Regions from separate parts of the Homo sapiens genome. Here region 1 is linked to region 2. Evidence: promoter capture Hi-C in 16 types of primary human blood cells and fetal thymus (Javierre and others, 2016). All regions are on one chromosome and are shown on one strand. Each heading gives the region's core, a stretch centred on a gene start or on the middle of the fragment in contact. The rest is flanking DNA. Distances are from core to core; before and after follow the strand shown. Region 1 holds the start of ATG13 (autophagy related 13). Region 2 holds the start of SPI1 (Spi-1 proto-oncogene).

Region 1 (2,700 bases), core at 123-2,622, 760 kb after region 2:
GATTCCCTGAGCCCAGGAGTTTGAGATTAAAGTTAGCTATGAAGGCGCCACTGTACTCCAGCTTGGGTAACACAGCAATACCTTATCTCTAATAATAATAATAAAAATTTTAAAATCTAAAAAACTAAAAGACTTCTCCTGAGCTGATAAATGGAGAGTTGAAAACAACAAAAAAAAAACCTCATAATTGAGCTGGAGCCACTACATGCACACATGAAAAGGACTAACAGTCATAAAACAACACACAAAATCTGGAAGCTAATTTAGTGTAAAGGAAGAGCTTGTTGTTTCTTATTATAATACATCTCCCACTAAAGGTGTCCAATAAATTCTATCACCTTAGGAGATGAGTTTTAAACTAAGTGTAATGAGAAAATAGGTAATTTTTTAAAATCTCTTTTTTCTTTTTGGCTGCGGGGTGGCCAGAGAACGAAGAAATACCAAAAGTGAAATGCTACGCTGAATTGACCAGGCTAACTGGGAACTCACTGGAAAAGTGAAAACTGGGAAGAATTAGTGATGAGCTCAAGAAGGTGCTTAGCCACTTACCCAGAGATTTATTTAATGAGAATGGATCACAGGTTTCCACAGGTCGTTCCACTGCCAGTAAGAAGACAGTCGTGAACCATGGGTCCCTTTTTTCACTAGTCAACAGTCACCCTCACCTACACGCGGAGTACATATTTGGCACTCAGCAAATCTTGATTGAATGAAAACCTACCTCACTCATATTGGCACCCAACCCCGGAGTTATGGCCCCCCAAATTACCTCCAAAACGCCTGACGACCTAACCCAAGGAGCTGAAAAAGTGGAGAGGAAAGCTCTGGGGTGGAGGGGATTCTCTGCCAAACAAGCAGGGGCCAACGGGGCCTAGACCAACTCAACTTCCCACAGAAAACTCAGGGGCCCAGGGGATTGAACCGTGGCTAATCCCTTCTACTTCCACGAAGCAGCAGCCAAGGGGCCGCAGATCCACAGCCTCCCACCCGGGGGCGCTGAGAGATCTTGGGGTATCCCCCGCAAAAGTTAGTACCTGCGAAGCTGCGGCACAAAGAGTGGTTCCGGGCTCTCATTACGGAGGCCGGGACCTGGGACCGACCAGCCGCGCCTCCTGGCTGAGGGTTCCGCGCTCCGGAGCTGCAGTGACCGTACACGTCGCCGATAGACACCTAAGGCTTCAGAAGGGTCCTGGCTCGCAGGCCCCAGACGTTTTGCTCCTAAGACTCCGCGAGTTGTCGCACCCACGTCGACTGGCGCTCTTCAGTGCTTCCCTCACTGGTTAAGCGGTCACTCCCGCCTTAAGCCCAGCAGCCGGTCGCTTCCCGGCGCCGCCATCGTTAGTGTTTGTTTTCATCCGCTTCGGTAATGGCCGGGGGGGGGGGGTGAAAGAGGGCTACGGGGGAAATCCAGATGCCTAACCTTAGTCGCACTTTCGCTACAGTACGGACGCCCTATTTATTCTTTTAGTCCTCAAAATATCCATAAAAGTTGATTTTCATTCCACGTAAGCTTTCTTCTCCAATCTTTCTAAGCTACTCAAGATAAAACAAAGACGGAAAGGCGGTGTTTGAGAGAGAGAGAGAGAGACCGTTTGGGCCGCGTGTGGAATGTGCGGAGATGAACCGCAGGTAGCCGCGGCAGCGGCAGTGAGGGCGCGGCGCGGGGCGGGCGCTGACGCGGAAGGGGCGGTGCCGCTGTTGCGCGCCGTGGCGGCCTCTGTGCAGTCGCCGGTTCCGGAGGAGGGCCCAACCCGGCTGGGTGGGTGGGAAGTGTGGCTGGTAACCTGGCAGCCGCGGAGAGGTGGGTGACGGGCCTGGGCTAACTGAGTGGCCGGCGCAATCAGACTTTGACATCCGTTTTTAGGGTGCCCTTTAAAAGTGGCAGAGTCGCTTCCCAAACCTGGTTCGGCCAGCCTCTTTTTCGCTCCCGACTTCCAATGTGTCTGGTCTTCCGTACTTCCTGGCCCTCAGGTTCACGATTTGGAGTTCTTGGAGTGAGGGAAAAGCCTTTTGTTACAGCACACAGTGTACGTCCATAAGGCTGGGTTGTGGACTTTGGTTGTTTTTTTTTTTTTTTTTTTTTTTTTTTTTTTGCCCCTTCTTTTCTTGTTAGACTGGTTTGAACACCCCAGCATCTGTCCTGTATTTGTCAGGTGAAACCAGAAGTCTTTGGATAATGAAACCCGTGACCAATTCTTACCCAAGGTGGTTATGACATATGTCAGCTGCTTCTTGGCCTATATAGTTAGAAGCCGACCTCTTTTACCTTGTGAATAATTATGTCATCACCTCCATTATTCTTTTGGTGTTCTCAATTGAAATGCCAAGCATTAAATGAGCCACAAAGATTGAATTCCCATTATCCTTGAATCAGAGCAAGCCTGTCGTGCAGCCATGAGTTAGTGGAGAAAAATCCGGAGTTGTAAGTACAGTACGTTTTGCCTCAACAAAATGGAAATTTGTAGAAAAGGAGCTGCTCCAGCCTTTGAGTCACTTTAAAGTCTTTGGTAGGTTCCTAATGTTTTTTCTTTTAACATTTACAGAGAGAAGATTATAAATGGCAGAGCCATTTAACTGTGGTTAGCTGTTGGATTCTGATACTTTCTTAAAAATACGTTCTTGCACCAACATCTTCATTGGGAACAGTTCAGAAAAAGCAAAGAGGAGAGCCAACATTCACATTTACCATGGCTATACCAA
Region 2 (2,700 bases), core at 21-2,520:
GCGAAACAACGCAGAAACAGAAAGTCAAATACTGCCTGTTCTCATGGGGCTCCTGGAAACCGAAGCTGATAGGTGAATGGATGGATAGGTGGATGAATAGATGGGTGGAATGGTAGGTGGGTGGATTGGTAGATGGGTGGATGAGTGGACTGGTGGATGGATGGATGAATGAATGAAGGGGTAGGTGGATGATGGATGGGTTGATGGACAGATGAGTGGATGGGTAGATGGGTGGATGAGTGGATGGGTGGATGGATGGACAGGTGGATGAATGGATGAGCAGATTCATAGATGGATAAACAGATGGAATTGTGGACTGATGGACTGATAGCAGGTGGACGGGCTGATTAATGGACATATAGATGGTTAGATAGACAAGTAGATAAACAGATGGGTGGGTGGATGAATTGACTGACAGATGAATGAACAAACAAACGGACAGTTGGATAAATGGACACATAAGTGAATGCATGGTGGGCTTGATGAATGGATAGCTGGATGGACAAATAGACAGACAAATAGATGCATGGGAAAACAGATGAATGGTGGATAGGCAAGAAAGGTTTGTAAACCAGGAGGGTTAGATTGATATTCAGGCATTGCCAAGGGATGGGGAAACTGAGAAACCTGGGCTGGAAACAGAGCCCTAGGGATTTGAATGTGGTAATCAAGAAGCTGGGAGGGGAGGGTATAAGAACCCAGGACCCTCTTCTGGTGGTAGGGAAGCCCATGTGAACAGATTCAGAGGGAAGGAAGAAAGCAGCACTATGCTGAAGACCCTACACCTGAGCCCAGCCTCAGCCTAGGGATAGCCTAGGCAGTGGGGGTGCAGGGCCACAGGAAGAGCCAGGCCTGATAGCCTGCTAGATCAGAGCCCTCACCCAGGAAGGCTGACTCCAGAAAGTGGAGGCCCCAAGAGGCCACCCCTTCCAGCTCTGACCCCAATGAGGTGACTGTTGGCTACATAGGGATCTCAAAAGAAGCAGGCATTTGTTGGGTTAGAGCAAAAGCCTCCCAGTGGTGTGGCAGAGCTACACGTTCTCCCTCCCATCCTCCCTCCCCAGCTTAGCCCCCAAAGTCATCCCTCTCAGTCCCAGCTTCCTCTGGGCAGGGGGCCTGGACCCCATGGCTTCCCAGGCCAGCCCTTTGAGCACCACCTGCCCCAGCCGGCCAGAGACTTCCTGTATGTAGCGCAAGAGATTTATGCAAACGGGTTGGGGCGGTGATGTCACCCCAAGGGGACTATCTCCCAGCGGCAGGCCCTTCGATAAAATCAGGAACTTGTGCTGGCCCTGCAATGTCAAGGGAGGGGGCTCACCCAGGGCTCCTGTAGCTCAGGGGGCAGGCCTGAGCCCTGCACCCGCCCCACGACCGTCCAGCCCCTGACGGGGCACCCCATCCTGAGGGGCTCTGCATTGGCCCCCACCGAGGCAGGGGATCTGACCGACTCGGAGCCCGGCTGGATGTTACAGGCGTGCAAAATGGAAGGGTTTCCCCTCGTCCCCCCTGTGAGTACCGGGACTCCTCCACCAGCCCAACCCGTGGCCCTCGGACGCCTGCCTGCCTGCCCACGAACCCGCCAGCCCACCCACTGCCCTCCTGGCTTGCTATCAGTGGGAAGTCAGGGTTTCCTCCCTGGAACTCCTGGCCTGAGACCCAGCGAGGGGGCCATTGGCTTCCTCGGAGCATGCCCTGGCGGGCTGAGGCCAGGCCCACGGTGGGGCTGTGATCGGTGGGGCCTGAACAGTTATTTATAGACAGGGCTCGGGTGGCAGGCGGAGGCCGGGGCTCCTGGGGAGGGTGCTGGGCTGAGGATGGTGAAGGCGGTGGTAGAGAGGTAGAGGAGGGAGATGGGGGGACTGGCTTGGGGGAGGCCGGTCCCCTGGATGGGAAGGGGTTGAAGGCAGGAGGCAATGGGCAGAAGTCTTGGCCCATGGCCTTGGGGCTCCTGGAAACCAAAGCTGATGGAACTCTGGGTCCCCAACGCCCAGTCTGGGGCCTGGCACAGAGGACATGATTGTTGACCAAAGGGTCAGGGCCATGGGCCCACAGGGGTACCCACAGGAGACAGGGACTGGTGCTGGAAAGGAGCCAGGAGTGGAGCTGAGACAGTGCAGTTAGGGCTGGCCCCAGGGCTGGAGTTCAGGGAGAGGCGCGGCAGGGGACAGGGCTGGGACAAGGCCAGGACTGAGATTGGGGCTGGGTGGGACCTGGGGTGAGCATGTGATAAGTGAGAATGGGGGCTGAGGCTGGGACAAGGACAGGGACTGGGTCTTGGGGGTGAAGAAGTGGGAGCCCCAGGGGACCCCGAGAAGAGAAGGGCAGATCGCCACTGCTCCTCACTCTCAGTGACAGTTGCAGCCTTAGGCAGGTGTCAGACCAGGGTCCCTCGGAAAGGACCCTTCTCCCTTTTCCCACCCCATGACCTCTCAGGAGTGAGGAGGCTTGAGGGGAGCCGGGAAGGGCTTGGCAGGCTGCCCACCTGAATCCACTTTCCTGGTCTAGAGGCAGCTCCCTTCCCCCACTATGCCCTGGCTCAGAGCCACCCCAGGAGGCTGGGAGGCACCCCAGGCCTGACATCACACCAACCCGACCAGAGCCGGGCTGACATCCTGCAGCGAGGCTGTACTACCTGGAAACCCAGAGGGGCAGGCTCAGTGCTGGGCTCCTGGCCTCCTCACTTGGCCAGCCACAGGCAGG

Evidence for each region. Contacts are between HindIII fragments. The CHiCAGO score rates a contact against its expected background, and 5 or more counts as called.
Region 1: the fragment with the promoter of ATG13 here is called in contact with the fragment with the promoter of SPI1 in region 2 in 1 of 17 cell types (neutrophils); the score reaches 7.6 in neutrophils.

What each region holds. Positions count from the first base shown.
Region 1 is chr11:46,616,225-46,618,924 of GRCh38, reverse strand. ATG13 (autophagy related 13) reads right to left here and starts at 1,372. Exons shown (of 19, transcript NM_001346311.2): 1 at 1,035-1,372. HARBI1 (harbinger transposase derived 1) reads left to right here and starts at 1,698. Exons shown (of 3, transcript NM_173811.4): 1 at 1,698-1,801; 2 at 2,544-2,700. The coding sequence starts at 2,688. RefSeq lists a silencer at 1,112-1,406 and an enhancer at 1,386-1,565. The HindIII fragment of the contact is 4,045 bases long and covers 1-1,512 here.
Region 2 is chr11:47,377,117-47,379,816 of GRCh38, reverse strand. It overlaps SPI1 (Spi-1 proto-oncogene), which reads left to right and starts at 1,270. Exons shown (of 5, transcript NM_003120.3): 1 at 1,270-1,508. The coding sequence starts at 1,464. RefSeq lists enhancers at 1,107-1,176, 672-1,623, 1,797-1,846, 2,517-2,700. The HindIII fragment of the contact is 19,336 bases long and covers 1-2,700 here.